7 separate regions of the Homo sapiens genome follow, and all the other regions are linked to region 1. Evidence: promoter capture Hi-C in 16 types of primary human blood cells and fetal thymus (Javierre and others, 2016). All regions are on one chromosome and are shown on one strand. Each heading gives the region's core, a stretch centred on a gene start or on the middle of the fragment in contact. The rest is flanking DNA. Distances are from core to core; before and after follow the strand shown.

Region 1 (2,929 bases), core at 161-2,660:
TGGAAATTATTGCCAGACCAACTCATAATTACAAAGTTTTTCCAGAGCGTATATACCTTCTAAGCTATATGTCTACGTGTAAGAGTGCATTCATCTAAAGACGTAAGTGATTAACAACTTCTAATCCTGAAGACCTTCCTCTGGAGCCTCAGTAAATTTACTTAATCTAAATAGGTCTGGGTGCTGGGATGATTACCCTTATTTTGTCTCTTGCTAAATCATGGAGGCTTGTGGAATTCCTCCAGACTCCCAATAAACTTGTTTTTGGAGGCCTGGGGAGTTTCTTCAGACCCCCAATAAAACTTGTTTAATCCTAAACGGGTCCTGTTAAAAATTCCTTAGTTATCTTGTCATGCTTCAAGGCCCAAGAAAGGCCTAGGCAAAACTCTTGGTGGGCTTTTGTTACATTCCAGACTTTGGTATATGGGCACTGACTCTTTCAGCTTTTAATTTTTTTTTTGTTTTTTGAGACGGAGTCTCGCTCTGTTGCCCAGGCTGGAGTGCAGTGGCGCGATCTCGGCTCACTGCAAGCTCCGCCTCCCGGGTTCACGCCATTCTCCTGCCTCAGCCTCCGGAGTAGCTGGGACTACAGGCGCCCGTCACCACGCCCGGCTAATTTTTTGTATTTTTAGTAGAGACGTGGTTTCGCCGTGTTAGCCAGGATGGTCTCGATTTCCTGACCTCGTGATCCGCCCGCCTTGGCAAAAAGTGCTGGGATTACAGGCGTGAGCCACCGCGCCCGGCCTCAGCTTTTAATATTTAATTTAACCACTCAGTGCTGAAGCAGTTGTGATGGAGGCCTGCGATAGTGAAACCTGGCCTGCCACAGGTTAAACGCATCTATCGCCAAGCCAATAGGACTTACCGCTCCTCTCACCCACCCTTCTACTTTTCTGGATTTTTAAGAAATGGAAAGATTGTCAGAGTAGGCCATAAAGGCTTTAAGCCGGCTGGTGGCTGAAAACTCCCTTGGCCCCCAGCCTCCCTGGTAAGGCTTGCTGCAGCCTAATTAAAACCTTTTGCCCCTAAAATTCTGCCCCGGTCTACTGGCAAAATTTCCACTACCTAGGCTTCACTTTGTGGCTTAAAGTTTGAGCCTTGTTAAAAGCGAAACAACATCAAAAGGTGTGGCCCTATTACCAATCCTTTGGGCTCGGTTTGGGAACAGGTTTGGTCGAGGCGGTTGCGCAAGTTGGTGAGCACGTTCCTTCTACGGAACCTCCATGGGCGGCACCTGGCAAAACCACCGGACTCAGCAGGCTGGCCAGGGTGCGAGGCGGGCACGGAATCCTCGCTCTGGCCCCGACCCGGCCGGGGAGCCCCGTCCCTCCCCGGACCGCCTTGGCCAATCAGCTCCGCTCCTCCTTGGCCATCCGGCTCCGCCCCTTCCCGGCCAGCCCCGCCCCGTCGTTTCTCTCCCTGCTTTCCTCTGCCGCATGGTCCTGGGCCGTTGGCGTCGGAAGCCTGAAGCATGGGCGCTGAGTGGGAGCTGGGGGCCGAGGCTGGCGGTTCGCTGCTGCTGTGCGCCGCGCTGCTGGCGGCGGGCTGCGCCCTGGGCCTGCGCCTGGGCCGCGGGCAGGGGGCGGCGGACCGCGGGGCGCTCATCTGGCTCTGCTACGACGCGCTGGTGCACTTCGCGCTGGTAAGTGCCATCGCCTAGACCCTGCACTCCCCATCCCAGAGAGTGGGAGCGGGGGCGGCAAGGCGGGGTGAGGGGGTCCTGCGGCTTTTTGCAGCGAGCTGGCCGCCCCTCCCCCTGCTGCAGGAAGTCTGTTAGCTGAGAGGCGCCTGGAGGCCGCGGCGGCCGGAGTTCTGATTCCCAGGTCTGTGAACAGAGCGCAGCTTACCTTGTGCTGCCGATTCCTCCACCAAACTTTAAAAAAATTCTGTACGTGCTATGTTAGTTTAGAAGATACCTCAGCTTCCTCGGCTTTGTAACCTGCACGTAACTGTTGAACTGGACATAATTGAGAGTAGAATTGAGGTCATTTTTAAATGCCCCAGAGGGGGCAAGGAGAGATGCTTGCTCCGGAGGCAGCAAGGCTATTGTCGCAAAACCCGAAGCCTTTGCCAAGACAAACGAAACACCCGTGTCTAATGTGTGCCAGGCGCATTACTGAGTTTAAAATTTCAGATCTTTACAGCATCCATAAATTAGTTATTATTGTTCCCCATTTTACAGAGGTGAAGGTAGGCGCTGCAAAATTAGGTGACTTTCCAGTGCCACACAGCTGGCATGATTCTGAGGCAGTCTAGTCTGGCTCCCAAGTTTGCACTCTGTGTATCAGTCGAGGTCTTAGGAAATATGTGTCCTTAGAGATTCAACCCATTTTATAAAATAGCCAGGAAGGTTGTGTTTAAGGCATTTATATTGAAATGCCCCGCCCCCCACCACACACGCGCACGCACACACACACACACACTTTTAAGTTTTTTTTAAACTATGCCCAAGTATCAGTTTGTTTTTTTTTTTTTTTGTAAAGTTGACCTTGTTTAACTCTAGACACACCTGTGGCTAATGTGAAGCCAAAGTCAGTAGTATTGAGAAAGCAAGCCGAGTTTTGGGTAATCATCGAGTTCTGTAAATGTTTACGGGTTGGCTTTGTGCCCATGACTGATGTTGCTGGAATTCTTTTTATTCTGATAATCAACATGTAGAGATAAGGGACAGTGAATGTTTCTCTCAACTCCTTTATTTATAGAATTCTTTTTTTTTTTTTTTGTCTTTTTTTTTGTTGTTGTTCTTGAGACAGAGTCTAACACTGTTGCCCAGGCTGGAGTGTAGTGGCACTATCTCGGCTCACTGCAACCTCCGCCCCTTGGGTTAAAGCTATTCTCCTGCCTCAGCCTCCCGAGTAGCTGGGATTACGGGCGCCCGTCACCACGCCCAGCTAATTTTTGTGTTTTTAGTAGAGATGAGGTTTCACTA
Region 2 (2,929 bases), core at 301-2,800, 1.7 Mb after region 1:
CATTGTGTGTTTCCTTTGGGCCAAGCAGATGCCACAAGAGACTGCTGGGTAATCAAATAGGAGATCCCAGTAGAAAGAAAATGTGGGGTGATGTGCTAAAAGCAAGAGCTAGGAGGTGGGCCAGCATCACAGAAAGCCCGTCACCTATGTCAGGAAAATCTCTGTGGGACTTCCCAACAACTGACAAACATACCCTGAGAAAGCACACATGTGGATATCATGCCCAGAGGACACCAATGGATGGATCAGAGCAGCATCAGTCACCTGAATGGCTTGCTCTCTCTCCTCCTCCAACACACTGGAGAAAGAAGGAAACTCAGAGACAGCCAGGTGAGAAGAGGAGGAGGATACAGAAAAGCAGAACAATGGCTCACACCTCCTTTATGCACTGCAGGGGAGGGATTAGAAACTGGAAGTGACACTGAAGGTTTAAATTGGATTGGACTTTTAAATGCTTGGAAGTGAATCATACTGACCCAAATGTGATTTATTTTTATAACCAAGTGACAAGAAAACTATAGAATTTGCAGGAAACGTCACTGAAGAGGGAAAGAAAAAATCATGTTTGAAGGCAGTGGAAGGAGAAAATAAAACCATTTCCTGTTTGTTCTCCCATCAAATTTAGCCCACTGAGTATGCCAGTTATGTAAAGATCAAATGAAAGTATACATGCAAAGAGCTTGGCATATTATCCAGCCTTTAACAAAAAGCCCATTAGAGCTCAATGTTGGCTATGGTCATTGACCTCACGGGTGGATCACCTGAGGTCAGGAGTTCGAGACCAGCCTGGCCAACATGGCGAAACCCCGTCTCTACTAAAAATACAAAAATTAGCACGGCGTGGTAGCGGGCGCCTGTAATCCCAGCTACCAGGAGGCTGAGACACAAAAATCGCTTGAACCCAGGAGGCGGAGGTTGCAGTGACTGGAGATAGCACCACTGCACTCTGGCCTGGGCTACAGAGCGAGACACAGTCTCAAATCAATCAATCGATCAATCAATCAATCACATGGAAACGGTGCAATGTCTTAGCTGACAATATCGGGCTGCTGGAGGTTTACACACACCTGCTTTCCTCCTTTTGTGTGTAAGCTGTGAGAAACACACCTCACAGACGAACTCCCAACCACCACCCAGCAGGGGCGCAGCCGGAAAGACCCAGCTAGCAAAGACCTCGCCTGACCCAGCACAGCGCCCCCTCCTGGGCGCGATCCTACGTCGCCCAGAAGTCGAGGGGAGGAACCGAGGGAACGCGCAAGAAAGGACGCAGCGTCAGCGCGGACGTTCTCACGCACGGCACACGGAAGCAAGCACGGCGTGAGTTCGTCCCTCTGCGCACGCCCCGGTTTCCTCGCGTCCGCGGCTGCTCACCCGAACTCCAGATGACCTCCAGGGAGTTGGAAACTGCCAGCTCCAACCGAGCCTTTCCTCTTCCCCAGGAGGACGCAACGCGGATGCTTGCAGCTGGTCACCACGACTCCGACTCCGACTCCTGGCCGCCGCCCGCGCGGCTGTGCGCTGGCCGTCATAGCGCGCGGGAGGACGCGCCTGGCAGCGGCAGGAAGTGACGCGCTCACTACCCCGTCCCGCGGCCGCAGCCAATCTCTCCCCGCGAGGGCGGAGGCGCCGAAATCAAAGCGAGAGCGCCTCGGCCTCTCCAGCTGTCCGCGGTGCGTAATGCGTCGCGGAGGGCTATCAGGTTGGGGAATGCCGTGTTTCCTTCCGAAGGGCAGCGTGCCTTAGAGTTTCGCTGTAACTAAAGTCGCTTACAGTTGTGCTTTGAATATTCATCACCCGTCAGCCTATCCACTCCCAGATTCCTGCAAACCATGCATTTACATGTACAAGCCGCCTGCTCTTACCAACCTCGGCACCACTGCACATTCTTTTTTCCGTGAATGACCTCGCCCACCATGGTGCACCCATTTGCCCTGTAGCTCAAATCAGCGTGGTACCAGGATAAGGATAGGTCGTTTAGAAACATCCCATTATAAACAACTATGCTTAAGGTATATTCATAAGTCATGGGAGGAAATAAAGGCTAATTGATAAATCATGCTGGGAAGAGTTAGTTACAAACAGTGGAAAACAGACATTTTCAGATGTTTGCACACCATGCACCATGCAAAATACAAACCAGCTGAATCATAAAAACAAATGACTAGTTACTGGGAGGGTTTTCTCTCTTTCTCATTATTTTTACTTCTACCAAAGTAATGTGCACATACTGGTAATTTTATTTTATTTTAATTTTCACCAAGCTAGCTAATTTTCTTTCTTTTTTTTTTTTTTGTGGAGGTGGGCTGTCGGTCTTTTGTCGAGGCTGATCTCCAACTCCTGTCCTCAAGCAGTCCTTCCACTTGGGCCTACCAGAGTGCTGGGATAACAGGCGTGAACCACTGCGCCTGACCTATAGCTATAATTTTAAGAAGTAAAATGGTGCAAAAACCGCAACAAGAGCAACCTGACCCTCCTACTTTCAGAAACAATCACTTTTAACTCTTTGAACTGTATTTCTGATATTTGCCTACTTATTTCTAAGTAATATGCTTACTCTCCATGTTATACTAAATGGGTATTAAGCTTTTCACAGCATCTCTCCTCACTATCAACATTCACATTCATTACAAAGGTACTTACAATATCTTCTCAAAAAATGGTAGTATATAAAAAGGATAATATATTGAACAATGAGATTAATCCCAGAAATACTAGGTTGGCTTAATATTTGAAAAGCCAATGTAATTCAGCATATTAACAGAGGGAGAAAGGAAATACATATAATCATCTCAATAGATGCAGAAAAAAATTAATAAAATCCGATACTCAGTTGTGATTAAAAAAACTCCACAAAATCTCTGAGCAAACTAGAAATAAAATGAAACTTTAACATGATATATGGCATCTACAAAGACCTACAGCTAACATC
Region 3 (2,929 bases), core at 210-2,709, 1.4 Mb before region 1:
ATCAGATGCCCCTCTCTAAAATGCACCGGGCAGGCTCCAAGATGTAGAACGTCTTGCTGGCCAGGCCCCTCTTGGGCCATCTTACCACCATCTCCTCTGGCCTGTCTCCTTTTAGATCCTCCTCCCCCAGGCCTAGTTACCATCACTAACCGTCAAATTCCTGTTATCCACTCGCTCAGAGCAGTAAGCTCTTTCTGGGTTTGGGCAACCCAGGCCATGCTGCAGGGCCTTGCCTGTCACAACGGAAGGGCCTGTCAAGCCTCATCAGCTGTCTTCCTTTGCTTCTACAAAAGCCACTAAACCCTGTTGGATTTAGGGGCTTTCTAGATAGCATTTCCCTTCCACAGTAACAGACCATGCACTGGACATATTAAAATCACAACCCAGCCCTCACCACCCGTCCTTCCCCTTCAAGGCCAGGCCAAGGTCCAGCTGAGGTCCACCCATGGCCCCCATGGCGACACCATTTGGTCCTCCCCAAGACCCAGGACTAGGGCAGCAATCTGAGGGTCTCCATGAGAATGGTGGTCATTGAGCATCCCTTCCCTCTGTGTGGCCGGCCAAGCCGAACTTAAACCTCCTGCCTCATTCCTTCCTTCTAGCCTGGGGAGCTCCAGACAGATCCTTTTCAACTTCTCAGGAGAAGATATGGAGTGGGATGCAGAGCTCTTTGCGTTGGAGCCCCAGTTGTCTCCTGGGGAGGACTACTATGAGACAGAGAACCCCAAAGGACAGTGGCTGCTTCGAGAAAGACTTTGGGAGCGGACGGTGCCCTGACTCCATCTGGATTCCTTGACGTGTCTCAGACTGGGTCCCTGAGAAGCTGTCCGCTTTCAGCGCAGCATGAGGTATTTGGTAGAGTTGAAAATGCCAATTGTAACACAGTCAACCCACTCAGCACACTGCCTGCTGGTGCCGTGCCAGTGCCAAACAGACCTGTGGCTTCCCAGGGGACAGGTCTCAGGACACTCTCAGAGCTTGAGTTTCTCTGCGTGGGCTGATGACCAGGGACTTACAGCCTGGCTGGTCTTCAAGAGCTGAAGGAATGGAAGGTCTTGAGTGGAGTGTCTGGGCTCACTCCCCTGACCTCACCTGGCCTGGTCCTCATTCTCCACGTGTCTGTCCAGGTGGCTGCTAGCAATGTGCTCAGTACCAGAAATGAACTCACCTGTAGATTTCTGGGCCAAAGCTTCAAAGAGGTAGCTCCTCTTTCTATGAGGCTCAGAGACATGCTGGATCTGCACTGAGGTTGCCGTCTTGTGTGCAGAATGCAGTTGAGAAAGCAGCTCCTTTTGCTCTCTTTTCAGAGTTTTCCAGAAACTCCTGCTGCATTAAGCTAAGATGAGGCTAATGCCCTGGCAATGGGGTGAGGGAAGGGGTATGTCACGAGCCTGCCTGGGGGCCACACTGTTTCCTCAGGCCCCAAAACTCAGCTCCCCTTCACATAGGCAATTGACAAGAGAAGAAGGGAGATGGGGTGATTCTTTTCTTTTTCTTCTAATTCTTACCCAGAAAAATCTTTTTAAATATCCATGGAACCAGTTTATGACAGGCCACACCTTTCCCTTTCCCCAGTTAAGAGAACAATCAGAATCATTACGTTCTTTTGGTATAGAAAGGATTTCTGTATTTTAGGAACTATCTGAATCAGAATTACATTTAAAATATATTCTTTGTATTTCTAAATACTTTTTACATTTTTGCAATAGTTGTACCCATTCAAGCTTGAGAACCACTGGTTTGGAGAATATACTGAAATTTATCTATTCTCACTTCTTTTTTTGGCATTTTCTTGTAAACCAGTCTGTGCATGTATAAGGGTCTTTGGGCAGAAGGAAGGGAGAGAGACAAAAAACAGAAAACAAAACAAAACAAAGAAAACCACAATCATTTGAATTAAGCCAAGGATGTTCTAGGCTAAGGTCAGGCTAAGAACTGAACAGAGGCTTCCTTTCTGCCATGCCTGTGGGATGATATTCTTATTGTTCCATTTTTTAGGAAGAACCTTTTGTTTATGTGAACCTGATCATATGAATCTAAGAATATGTAACTCTTACAAATAAAAAACAGCTAGTAATTATATTGCATTCTTAGAAATTTTATCTCAACATGTTTTCAGAATGAAACCATACTAGAAATGTTTTAATACCTCTCTTTATTATTTTTCGAGTGCCAATGTCAATGTTTGGAAAGTTTCTTTCATTTTGTTGCTTGTACTAACCCAGCTATAGCCAGAAGCTTGACTGGAAAGTAAATGTTTAGGAGATTTGTTTTATAAACTGCATTAAAGCACTGCCATTTATCACCACAGATCTTTTATTTTCCCTAAATGTGGCCTTGTTTGAAGCCTCATCTATAAAAGTTCATTGTTGGGGATAAACTCAGGATAAAGGTGTCTTTACTCTGCCTCTTATCAAACTACAGTTTATCATAGATCCACCCTGAAATTATGTGGTGAAGATACTGTGTACATTTTGTTTTTAAAGATAAGAAAAAATAAACATGACTGCGAGGATGTTTGGAGTCCTGATTTTTTAAAAAGCATTTATTGCTTATGGCACATGAAGCTGTGCCGTCTTATTTTGCTTTGTTTTGTATGTTTTTTGTCTTTCATGAGACTATACACAGCCTGAAAAATTCCATGATTGGGAAACAGAAGGTTGTCTTGTCTTTGGGGATCATTTTTAGGTGTTTGAAGTTGGTGATAAACCCAAGGATCTGTGCTCTGCCTGGGGAATCTTGAGATGGTGTCTGGTGGGGTTTGAGATAAATGAAATCTGAAACAATAAAAGTCAATTCAGAAAACCCAGTTGAGTTGACAGATTCTTTTCTTCCTTGGATTGGCCAGTTATTCAATGGAATCAAGCTGATCACTGAGGCTATGTTAGATCTCTGGCTTTCCCAGGATTCTCAGTTTTGATACATGAAA
Region 4 (2,929 bases), core at 216-2,715, 1.4 Mb before region 1:
TTGGCCTCCCAAAGTGCTGGGATTACTGGCATGAGCCACTGCGCAGGGCCTGGAAGATAAACTTAGTAGGAGTAGAAACAGATATCACGAGGCCTGAAGCTTATATAATTTGGGAAGCCTCCTTTAAAAAGAATATAATTACCAATAAAAATTTAGCTACAAAAATAAGTACTCTTCTTAGAATTAAGGAAGAAAACTTTAAAGCTGACAGATAACATAAACATCAAAAGCTGGAAACATGTTTTTATTGTTAGTATCATAAATTAACTAACCCTCTTTTATAATACTTTCCTGCATCTTTGGCTGTATTTTGCTTTTTCTGTTCATTGGACAATGATTTTATAATGTCATTTTCTATAAAGAGGATAGAATGAATATTCTAGCATGGCTGGCTGAAAATTGTATTTATTGTATTTTGTTTTCATTGTTAGCTTAGACAAATTTCTTTATGCACATCCATAACTTTCTCAGCAGTTTCTTGCTGAAGTGTGCTTCTTTCATGTTGGCAAGTCCTGGGAAAACTCCAGCGTTTGATCTCCCTCGACCTGTTCCACCCATCTCCCCTACTTTTACGCAAGTCCTCTTGGACCAGGCGGTCCCCACTGGGAATGCGCAGCCTCTCTTTCAGATGCCTTTTTGGGGGTTAGAGTAGAGTCTGGATGTGTGTTGAGTCTACCAGAAGCAAGTGGTCCTGAGGACTGGGTGGTCTGCAGCCCCACCCACAGGCATCCAGGACCACTACCAGGGCATATAAGGTGACCCCTCAGGCTGGGGATGGCTTCAAGCTAGAGGGGGCCAGGTGAGGCTGCTTCCTCCCTGTCCTGGAAACCTCAGCTTCATTAGCTTCCAAAGCAAACCTGAAGCACTCTTGATTTAAATCAGAAGTTCTTAAACACTTTGGTATTCAGAAGCCTTTATACTCTCATAAATTATTGAAGACCCCACAGAGCTTTTGTTTAATCTATGGGTATTTATGGTATTAGAAATTAAAACAAATTAAAAAAACATTTTTAAATTTATCTAAAATAATTATATGTTATATAATTATGCTGTAATACATAATAGTACATGTTAGTGTAACATTTTTATGATAACTATATTATTCAAATAAATTAATGACAAGATGGCATTACTTTACAGTTCTGGAAATCTCTTTTAATATCTGACTTAATGGAAGTAATGGAAGTGGGATTCCATCTTCCGCAATGTATGTATTCTGTGATATGATTTTGGTTGAAACTTGTGAAGAAAATATGGAAGGAAGAAGAATTTAATACTCTTCTCAGATAATTGTGGCTATTCTTTTAAACCTCACAAAAGCTTGACAAATCGTATTTTCTCAAAGGTCAGTTATAATGTTGAATCTGTAACTGTACTGATGACCTTCTTCGTACTCTGTTATATTAAAATCTCTTGATCTGTGTTACACTTGGATAGAAATTTTTTCGCATCATTTTGTACTAGCTTGCATGAGTTATTTGGAAACTATTAGCTCACTGACTTGTGCTAATCTTACAAATGTTGACATGTTTCACTATACAATATCAAAATTGCATTTGTCAATATCATCATCACCTTAGCCTCTAAGGATTGGGATGCTAATAAGCTTACAGTATAAGATGCAACTTTTTTCCCCAAACTTGAGTTTTGTCATTGGCAACACATTCTGCCAGTTATTTTCCTTGAAGTGACAGGCTAACTTTGTTATTTTCTTAAGAGAATGTGTGCCAAATATCCAAGTCTGAGTAACCATAGTTCGTCTGTCAGTGGTTTTTTAAGTGGAAATGATGTTCCATTAAAAAAAGTGGCTAATTCATCTCATAACTCAATCGTGTAAGTACTTTTCCTGGAAGTGACCATTCACACTCCTGCATATAGGAGAAGTACTTTATTTGAGTGCGTACTTCCCATTCTGTTACACAAAATATTCAAAAGATGTATACTCAGGGTCAAGATTTCATAACATTAGTAATTTTTACTACCTCAAAATGAACAACCTAAAGTAAAACTGGCATTTTTTTTTACTGCACATATGTGACAATGAGGGATATGATGACTATAAATAATATACTGAAGATTTAAAAAAAGAATATAATAGTTTTGTGCCACTGTCTTGATTCATGCTATAAGGCACCAAATTTTACTCACCAATGCTTATGTGCCATTAGTGCAAATATGAATCAGTACAAAAGGCAAATAATGTCTTAATTTGGTTTTGAAAATAGTTTGGCCTCATGGATTCCTAAAAACACCTTAGGTATTCGCAGGGGTTCCATGGGTCATACTTTGAGAACTGCTGGCTTAAATGCCTTAAGCATCCTTCTAAGTGAATCAGAGGTCAAGGAAGGAGACATCATTGGTGGCTGAGGGAGAGAAGGGGAGGACCAGACATGACAGTCTTCATGACAATGACCTAGTTGAATACTATCTTTGTAAAAATGAAGAAATGGAGGCACAGTGAGATTTGCTCCAAGTCATCCAGCTAGATGGTGGTAGAGCCAGGGTTAACTCCTAGGTCTCCTCCTGACACACAGAGTCTGTGAGCCTCTGTCAAGTTAGGTCTCTCACCGAAATTATCTTACAATTATTTATTGAGTACTTGTTGTGTGCCAGGTACAGGGCTAGGTATTGAAGATATTAAATCAAATGACATTGTCATGATCCTTCAACTTGGTAGTCTAGGAAGCATGCAGATGGGCAAATCAATTCCACTCGCAGTTAGCACGAAGACAGGTGATACAGAGAGCACGGGGGGCTCAGAGCAGGGACGCCCGGATCTGCAAGTGGCTGAGAATGTCCAGAATCGGGATTCTGACACTGAGTTGGGAAGGAAGAATCAAGTTAGCCAGATCAGGGAAAGTGAGAGCTTTTCTAGTGGAGCAGAGCCTGTGGGAAGGCAGGGAAGAGAGGAGTTTGAGTAGCTGGAGGA
Region 5 (2,929 bases), core at 164-2,663, 1.3 Mb before region 1:
ACAGGTGCTGATTTTTTTAAAAAAGCGGCCTTTATTCCCTGCTGGACAAGCATTCTCAACTAAGAATTCTAGAAGAAGCTCCAAACCCATTACAGGTGGAAAACACCACACTCAAACCCAAGATCCTTGTTTGGGAAACAGTTCATCTCTCAGCCAGATGTCCTTTCCTTTTAACAGAGCTGGGCATCCACAAACAAAATAACCAGAGCCTGGAACAAACAGCTTCATGGATTTTTTAAGTTTAAAGATTTGAAAGTCAAACAGGCAGTCTTTTACCCAAAGCTGCCACTCTTACTTGAATATAACTTTGCTTGGCTTACACGCAGCCCAGTCCTCCTGGCAGAGGTTCTTGGGAGAAGGGGGGCCGCTGGGACCCCTGCTTTTCCTGGCAGGTAACAGGATGCACCTGCTCAGAGCTCCAGCCTCCAGGATGCACAGCACAGCTGTTTTTTCTTAGTCTGAATAAGCTAGATCAGAGGTAACAGAGGGATGGAAGCAGGAGAGCAGAAGGACAATTTCCCATCTGTCTGTTTACCTTTTAGCAGTCCCCCTCCCAGAGACTCAAGCACTGGAAAGGAACTTGGTAGAATTTGTCTCAGATCCCCTAGGGGTTAGCAGGTGGTCCTTGAATTTATACCAGTGTATAGACAAGCCTGCCTGAGGCCGGCCAGGATGCACCCACAAGCAAAGAAGCCAACGGAGGCAATTAACACAGGCCATTACCACTGGCTTCTCTACCATCCCAAGCTTCGTCTAGATTGAGATCCGACTAATCAATTTTTGGAAAATATGTATAACTCATCTTGGAAAATATGTACAACTCATCTCTGACAAAACTAGACCAATTCAGTGGGGACTCTATCCTGCTCAGATTACAGAACAATTATCTGCCCCATGGTCTGGCTGTGGACTATGAGCTGTAGGGAAACTGCTCTTCAGACCATCCTAGGAAGCAAGCAGGGGCTGGAGAGTGCCCAGACCTCCTTCGTCTGTCCTCTGTAGGATTTAGCCCTGGATAGCTCATGAGACCTGGAATGTCCCTTGCTGTGAATTCCAAATCCAGCCAGAGCATCACAGAGTTTTTCAAGGATGCAACCACAGATACTGGTGATGGTGAGCTCTTCAGGCCTTCCATAAACCTGGGCATTACAGACATTTGCCCCAGCCCCCAGGACTTACATGTGTCACAGCCCCATTGTAAATAAGAGGGTGTTTCTCACAGGATCTCCAGACCAGCAGCATGGATGGATGCCCTGTCTCCTGTGTCAATGATGCCAACGCATAAGCAGCGCTTCCCTTGGGGAGACTCCTTGCTTCTCTCATTGCTGCTTCAGAGGCTGGGGGATGTGGTATAAAAAGTGCTAAACTTAGAGTTGGAGCCTCTTCAACAAATCTGGCCTCTGCAACTCTATGTGACTGCAGTCAATTCACAAAGATGACTCAGCCCCAACAGGCTCAGCTGTAAAAAGGACATGATAATAAGGTTAGCTACCTTATAAGAGCTGGGCAAACATTGAGTAACAGAACAGTAATTAATGTGTGTTGTCAGAACTATAAAACATTCTTTTAAAATGTTTGCTGTCTTTCCCATAAAGTGGACACTTGCTTACTGTCTATTCCAACAGTGTAGACTGGGGAGCGGGGAGGTGGGCAGCAGCTCCAACTAATGCCGCAAATCTACCTCCAGGTGTTCATCAGGCACCTATGCTGTGTTTAGCACAGAAAACGTGTAGGATCGGGTTGCTTCTCTCCAGAATTACCATGAATTAGGAAGAAAAAAAAATGCAACACTTAGGAAGAGAGAATTCAGAGAAATCTTTATGGAGAATGGAACAGGAACACTGGGCCTCACAGGGAGGTCAGGAGAGAAAGGGAAAGACACTGCAAGTATTTGGTATCATCTTTTTGGTAAATCAGGATCCTGTAGCCTTGAAGGCATAGTTTTTTCATTGTGTATTAGTTATTTCTCAGAGGCATCCTTGTATTCTTGTTAGAGACTGACTGTTACATTTAAAGATGTGGGAGGTGTTGGCAGTGTTCGTGGAGGGTCGCGCCCTCCCCACCCAGAGTGAAGCTTGTTCTGGGCACTGGCTTCAGCAGCTAAGCGGGTACAGCATCTCTGCATCCCCTTCTCGACTTTGAGGAAGTATTTGTCAAGGAGACTTATGTTTCACAAGCACCTACTCAGTGCCAGGCTGCACGGGGCTCCTCCCAAGGGCCCATGACATCAATGTGGTTATTGGCATTTTACCGAGGAGGCAAGTGACGGCTTAGAGAGTAGCTCGATAGTGTCACACAGCCAGGATGTGAACCCTTTGGAAATAAATGAAGACCACACAAAGGACAACACACACCTCCAGGAGATTTTATTTAGGGGGTATGCTTTGGTTTCTACAGGTGTCTCCATGGAAGCCATCCTGAAACTCTTTGGAGAATACTTTCAATTCTGAAGATGTCTGGCTATGACAGGATGCTACGGACACTGGGAGGAAATCTCATGGAGTTTATTGAAAACCTGGATGCCCTCCACAGTTACCTGGCACTCTCTTATCAGGTAAGGCCACTTGAGTCTGGTCTTGGCTGCCCAAGAGGAAGCAAATGCTGTGGCAGTCCTGGGCCAGCTCCCCGCCTCCCCCAACAGAGGCACGGTTGCAGGAGAACCCTCCCATCTGCAGAATCCTTGGTACCTGGTGTTGGTGGGCTCAGGAGTTCTTTTTGGAAGAGAATGAAAAAGAAACACCTGCTGGCCACTTTTATAAACTGGCTCACAAAAACCGAAGGGATGGCCTTTTCAGATAGGGTGTGGTGTTGATTTGGAATTAAATCCTGGAGACTCATTACAATTGGAACAAAGGCTGGAAAACAGTCAGGTTTCAGTGCATTTGCAAAAGCTCTCCTAAGGTTTCCTGGCCAGGATGGAGCTGATAAA
Region 6 (2,929 bases), core at 186-2,685, 1.3 Mb before region 1:
GGTTATGCAAATATAAGATCTGCAAGTAATGATAATTTTACTTCTTTTCAATTTGTATATGTCTATTTTCTCTCTCTTATTTGTTTAAAACATTCTTATCATACTCCTGACTTTAATGGTAACACTACTGATATTTCTCCACTAAACATAATGTTGACTTTTATTTTGTATAAATTAGGGAAGTACACATCTATTCCTATTTCACTGAATTATTTTGAGATCAATAATGGCAGTTGAATTTTACTAGGTATCTTTTTTTTTTTTTTAATATAGGAAGGGGTTTAATTGACTCACAGTTCCACAGGGCTAGGGAGGCCTCAGGAAACTTACAATCATGATGGAAGGGGAAGCAAACACATCCTTCTTCACATGGCGACAAGAAGAAGTGCTACCAAGTATCTTTTAAGTATCTAAGGAGATTAATAATACCTTATTTCTTTCTTAGATAACTAATATGGTAAGACTTCTTAATATTGAACCATCTTTATATTATGAATAAACCCCAATTTGTCACATTGTATTATTCTTTTAATGAATTGTTTGAGTCTATTTGGTAATATTTTATTTAATATTTTTGCATTAATATTTACAAGTAAGCTTGTTTTTTTGAACTCTACAATCACCAGGTTTTAAAAAATCAGTATTTTGCTCACCTTTTTGTCCTGTTTAATAAATCTTTCCTGTACCCAAATCAATTTCATTTTGCTTGGTTTTCTTATTTTTAACCTCTGAGCTCTTGTGCTATTATTATTGTCTATCTTCCTTCAAACACATCTTTGTTTCTTTGATGGTTTACATTTTCCCCCATGCCTACCCTGTAGTGCGCCAGCTCAAACAACATCACTTGTCTTTCTGTGACTTCCATGATTCTTCCCTCTCTACTTTGTGCCCAAACTTCATAGAGGTAATTGTTTAAGTATTTTATGTTTGTAGTAAAATGCTTTTTACTATTTTTATCTGCTCTTTGGCAACACTTTATCTGCCATTTACTTTTTCTGGTCTTTTTTTTTCTTGTTTTATGTTTCATATCTTTGAAATAACTTGGGTTTGTTCTTTTTGGTTTCTCATCTTTGAGGCACAAGAGTTTTCCTTGGGCCAAATATTTACAGGGCCTCATCCCAGCCTAGTAGGAATTTTCTTTATAAACCAGGGTTTTGCATGCAAGTTTTAGTTCTATTTCTCCCTGATCAATAAAGACAGGTAGCTATGGGGATTTTTAAAAAGCAACGTCTCTCTTCTTTCCCTCTGCCACTGAGATAGATAGTTCCTGCAAATGTGATGTGGATGTGTGATTTTTTTTTTTTTAACTCCATCACCTCTTCATTTCACAACTAAATTGGGTCTTGGAGAGTTCTTGCTGTTCTGGTGTGTATACTGGTTCCTTCTGTCATAAACATGTGACTTAGACTTTATTCCTCACCTCTGCCCTCTCTGTTTACAAATGTATTTTTGCTGACTCAGTCTCATTTCCACAGCCATGAACTCTTCCTTCCTCTTTCTCCTGGAAGCTCCCCTGCTTTTTGCAGTCCTTCCATCTATTTGTTGTTCATAGTTTAAAATACCTCCTAGTTTTGCTGAAAATTGATTTTTTGGTTTCCATTTCTTATTTTCCTTTTGCTTTGGATGATTTCAAAGAAGAGATTGGGGGTGGGAGGTGGGGATAGAGGATGAACTTCCCACCTCCATCTTCAAATCAGAAACATTAGTATTTCAAAACTTTAGTGTGAGTAAAGGGTAAAAGGCAGCTATTTCTGAAAATCTTTTAAAGAAAAACAATATGGGATTCACTTTATAGAGCACATAGACATTGAAGCCTCAAGGTGGATTTAAAGCATTCGGGGTATTTTCTTAGCTTATCACTTGGGAAAGTCATCTAATCTTTCTAGGCCCCATTTTTCCAATGAAGGGGTTTGACAAGAAGATTCCTAGAGCCTGAAGACAGAACAGACTAGCCTTGAAGCCCAGTGTTCTCTCCTAGAGAAATATACAGAAGCATGCAAGCCTGTCCTGCCTGAGATTCATGGGCTGGTTACACTCCAGCCACCGCTGCCTCTGTCACCCTGCCTTCTACTCTAGCTCCATGGCAAATATTTAAAAACCAGACCTTTTCATAGGCATCATACTGATTTAGTCTCTAATCATGAATCCAACCAAAATATCTGGATCCTCTCTGCCATCAGTCCATGGTGACCAGATCTGGGCTGTGTTAGGGGTCATTGCATTCAGCCTGTACTCTGGAAATTACACTCCCAACATTCATTTACTAAAGCTTTAACAAAATTATTCAGACAAACTATCCATTTAAAAAGTAGACTGAGTAGTTATCTTTGAAGACCCAAGGAATCTTTACCCAAGATTAATAAGAAAAAACAAACTGAAAAAAAAACTGGTGATTTTGTTCACATTAAAAAAAAAATGCTGCATGTTAACCATCTGTCATGGTTTACTAATTAAATCACTGCAACTAATCTTGTATTAATATTTTTTTAAAGTTAAAAATGGGTTTCCTGAAAATGCTTAGAATTTCTGTGGAATTGCTTAGAAAGTCTTTTTACTTTTTGAACTTCCTTGGCCTTATAAAACTGTCAGCAGAGCAAAGTAAGGGCCAGTTTTCTGCAGCCATAACTCCCCCATCTCTTTTACAAGTCTTTATTCTTCGGAAATATAAAGGGTTGTGTTGAAAAGCATTAACTGGGGGCCGGGCGCGGTGGCTCACGCCTGTAATCCCAGCACTTTGGGAGGCCGAGGCGGGTGGATCATGAGGTCAGGAGATCGAGACCATCCTGGCTAACAAGGTGAAACCCCGTCTCTACTAAAAATACAAAAAATTAGCCGGGCGCGGTGGCGGGCGCCTGTAGTCCCAGCTACTCGGGAGGCTGAGGCAGGAGAATGGCGTGAACCCGGGAAGCGGAGCTTGCAGTGAGCCGAG
Region 7 (2,929 bases), core at 281-2,780, 1.3 Mb before region 1:
AATGAAAGTTAGAAAATCATCAGATCCTAAAAATAGTGGGCAAACATCCGATAAGAAATAGGATACTTACAAAGTCCCAGAATACTTACCCACAAATTACTTATTAATTATAAAAATAATCAACAATAATTCACAATGAAAACTGTAGGCAGCACCTTAATCAAGTGATCAAAGTCAACAACACTGATATTGGGATAGACTGTGATTCCTGCCATGGTGTACTGAGAAAGACATATTACTCCTGGAGGTGCCCTAAGAGTATGACTTGAATTTAATCAAAAAGAAATATTAGAATAAGAAATATTCCAGCAAATATTTACCCTGTACTCAAAAATGTCAAGTAAGACAAAGAACAGATGAGAAACTCTTGCAGATTAAAGAAAACTATAACAACAAAAAGGCTCCAGTGCTAGATAGTTTTACCTCTAAGATTCTTAAACATTTTCCAGCAATAGAATATAATAATGCAAAATGAATCCTTCCAGAACATTGGAAAAAATGGAAAGCTAGCCTAATTCTAACGCTAAAGCCTAACAGCAGCATTGCTTATGAATATGTCTGCAAAATTCCTTAATAAAAGTGTAGAAAGTCTAATTGAAAACTATATTTGACAAAGGTTAAGAAAGATAGGATGTATCCATTATGCTATTGATCCTTTATCTACTGCCAGGGTGAGTTTATTAGACATTTGGGTACAGTTTGATAGTAAGTAGTAAAAACTTTATAGACACCTCAATAGATGCCAAAAAGCTTTCTGATAACAACCAACACCAATTATTAATTTAAACCTTAAGGAAACTAAGTATAAAAGGATGGATAGTCTTTATCATATTAGCAACAGCTAGTGTCAGAATTAATGGTAAAGCACATCAATAAAATCACCAATTAGACAAAGACGGCTATTATTACTCTTTAATACTGTTCTGGATATTCTAGCCCATGTAATATAATGTAAAATATATAATAAAAGAGGTGTAACTATTAGAAAGAATTGCATGCAATTTTTAAAAACTAAATTACATACTATATTATGTACTAAAACCCAAAATAAATAAAATGGAAAATTTTTCCATTAATAGTTTAGTAAACTGGTTATTTAAAAGATAAATATATAAAAATATAAAACTTTACCACAAAATGACCAGTTGGTAGACCTAGCTGGAAAAAAACAGATTTCATTAATAGCAATGAAAATATCTACACATACTCATACAAAGATATGTCTAGAACCTATTGAAGATGAAGAACCGAACATTAGTGAAAGGTATTCTTAAGACTTGAGTAACTAAAAAGAAATACTATATTCCCAAATAAGAATATTTAAGTTTGTAAAGATGTTTGTTTTCCCAAAGTAAGTTATGCATCTAACAAAATCTCAGTAAAAATCCCATTGGAACTTACTCTTAGAACTTGACAAAATAATCCTACAGATTAAATGAAAAACTAAACTGGTGAGAAAATAATTAAATTACAGCTTTACCTCACAGCATATTTAAACATAATTACACATTCTCTAGATGATTTAAGTAATTAAATATAAAACAAAAATAGGCCAGGCGTGGTGGCTCACGCCTGTAATCCCAGCACTTTGGGAGGCCAAGGCGGATGGATCACCTGAGGTTGGGAGTTCAAGACTAGCCTGACCAACATGGAGAAACCCCGTCTCTACTAAAAATACAAAATTAGCTGGGCGTGGTGGCACATGCCTGTAATCTCAGCTACTCGGGAGGCTGAGGCAGGAGAATCACTTGAACCCTGAAGGCGGAGGTTGTGGTGAGCTGAGATCACGCCATTGTACTCCAGCCTGGGCAACAAGAGCGAAACTCCATCTAAAAAAAAAACAAAAAAGAACCAAAAACATAACTATTAAAAAAATCAGAAGAAAATAAAAGTGTCTGGTTAAATTTCCTGTAAAATGAAATATCTTTCTAAGTACAATATCTGTGTAAAGGAAAAGTTTATGTATATATGTCTACATAAAAACTAAAAACACCTGCATGTCAAAAATCATAGGCAAAATTAAAGGCAAAGTATAAACCAAGAAAGGAAATTTACAACAAACACAGTAGAAATAATTAATGTCCTTAAGTTATAGAATACTTTTAGTCAATAAGAAAAATATTGATACTCTAATAATTTAGCAAAGAATATAAAAGACAATTCTCTATAAGATGACAATTGATTAGTAAGTATGAAAAAATGTTCAAAATCACTACTAATCAGGGAAATATGAATTAAAACCACAATAAAATGTTTTTACACTTATTTCCAAAGGTAACAACCAATGCTAACAAGGTGGCATTAAGCTTTCACACCCACTGTTTGTTAGAGTGCAAGACCATTAAAATAAGCCTAGAGTGCAAAAGCTTATAAACTTTCCATGAAATATATTCCCATAAATATATATTTGAAAATCCAATAAGCCCACATCCAAAAATCCATTATAAGGAAACAATAAAATATGTGGACAAATATTTACTTATAATCTGATTCTTCAAATAGTGAACATTTGTGAATAATCCAAATGTCCAAACAGGATCATGGTTATTAAATAATCAAATATCCAAATAATCAAAAATTATACTGTCATTAAAAAACATATTTATGAAGAACAGTTAGTAGTCTGGGAAAATAGTAACAAAATAATGTTTATAAAAAGGTAACTACTGTGATTTTTCACAGAATTAGAAAATAACTATTCTAAAATTCATATGGAACCAAAAAAAAGCTTGGATAGCCAAAGCAATCCTAAGCAAAAAGAACAAAGCCAGAGGTATCACATTACCCAACTGCAAACTATACTACAAGGCTACAGTAATCAAGACAATATAGTACTGATACAAAAACAGACACATAGGCCAAAGAAAGAGAATAGAGAACCCAGAAATAAAGCCACACACCTATAGCTATCTGATCTCCAACAAAGTCA

Evidence for each region. The method cuts DNA at HindIII sites, captures the fragments that hold promoters and counts their contacts. A CHiCAGO score of 5 or more calls a contact.
Region 2: a contact is called between the fragment with the promoter of NUDT15 here and the fragment with the promoter of EBPL in region 1, in 6 of 17 cell types (total CD4 T cells, activated CD4 T cells, total B cells and 3 more). The highest score is 12.5, in total CD4 T cells.
Region 3: a contact is called between a fragment that was not itself captured here and the fragment with the promoter of EBPL in region 1, in 1 of 17 cell types (naive B cells). The highest score is 5.1, in naive B cells.
Region 4: a fragment that was not itself captured here is called in contact with the fragment with the promoter of EBPL in region 1 in 1 of 17 cell types (total B cells); the score reaches 7.8 in total B cells.
Region 5: a contact is called between a fragment that was not itself captured here and the fragment with the promoter of EBPL in region 1, in 1 of 17 cell types (total B cells). The highest score is 5.8, in total B cells.
Region 6: a fragment that was not itself captured here is called in contact with the fragment with the promoter of EBPL in region 1 in 2 of 17 cell types (total B cells and naive B cells); the score reaches 7.7 in total B cells.
Region 7: a fragment that was not itself captured here is called in contact with the fragment with the promoter of EBPL in region 1 in 1 of 17 cell types (naive B cells); the score reaches 6.6 in naive B cells.

Annotation. Positions count from the first base shown.
Region 1 is chr13:49,689,967-49,692,895 of GRCh38, reverse strand. It overlaps EBPL (EBP like), which reads left to right and starts at 1,410. Exons shown (of 4, transcript NM_032565.5): 1 at 1,410-1,642. The coding sequence starts at 1,472. RefSeq lists silencers at 1,285-1,484, 1,515-1,654 and an enhancer at 1,118-2,115. The HindIII fragment of the contact is 12,052 bases long and covers 1-2,929 here.
Region 2 is chr13:48,036,347-48,039,275 of GRCh38, reverse strand. NUDT15 (nudix hydrolase 15) reads right to left here and starts at 1,550. Exons shown (of 3, transcript NM_018283.4): 1 at 1,372-1,550. The coding sequence starts at 1,529. LOC124903172 (a long non-coding RNA gene) reads left to right here and starts at 1,284. Exons shown (of 2, transcript XR_007063788.1): 1 at 1,284-1,670. RefSeq lists enhancers at 1,054-1,213, 1,264-1,503, 670-1,545, 1,546-2,422. The HindIII fragment of the contact is 6,950 bases long and covers 1-2,585 here.
Region 3 is chr13:51,081,999-51,084,927 of GRCh38, reverse strand. It overlaps C13orf42 (chromosome 13 open reading frame 42), which reads left to right. Exons shown (of 4, transcript NM_001351589.3): 4 at 603-2,809. The coding sequence ends at 777. Among named protein-coding and RNA genes, the nearest start is that of C13orf42, 28 kb to the left of the region's middle. The HindIII fragment of the contact is 535 bases long and covers 1,192-1,726 here.
Region 4 is chr13:51,051,749-51,054,677 of GRCh38, reverse strand. It overlaps the pseudogene GUCY1B2. Among named protein-coding and RNA genes, the nearest start is that of C13orf42, 58 kb to the left of the region's middle. The HindIII fragment of the contact is 286 bases long and covers 1,323-1,608 here.
Region 5 is chr13:51,033,628-51,036,556 of GRCh38, reverse strand. It overlaps the pseudogene GUCY1B2. Among named protein-coding and RNA genes, the nearest start is that of C13orf42, 76 kb to the left of the region's middle. The HindIII fragment of the contact is 1,327 bases long and covers 750-2,076 here.
Region 6 is chr13:50,977,895-50,980,823 of GRCh38, reverse strand. No RefSeq gene overlaps it. Among named protein-coding and RNA genes, the nearest start is that of RNASEH2B-AS1, 69 kb to the right of the region's middle. The HindIII fragment of the contact is 1,672 bases long and covers 600-2,271 here.
Region 7 is chr13:50,958,374-50,961,302 of GRCh38, reverse strand. It overlaps a transcript of RNASEH2B not described here. Among named protein-coding and RNA genes, the nearest start is that of RNASEH2B-AS1, 49 kb to the right of the region's middle. The HindIII fragment of the contact is 1,556 bases long and covers 753-2,308 here.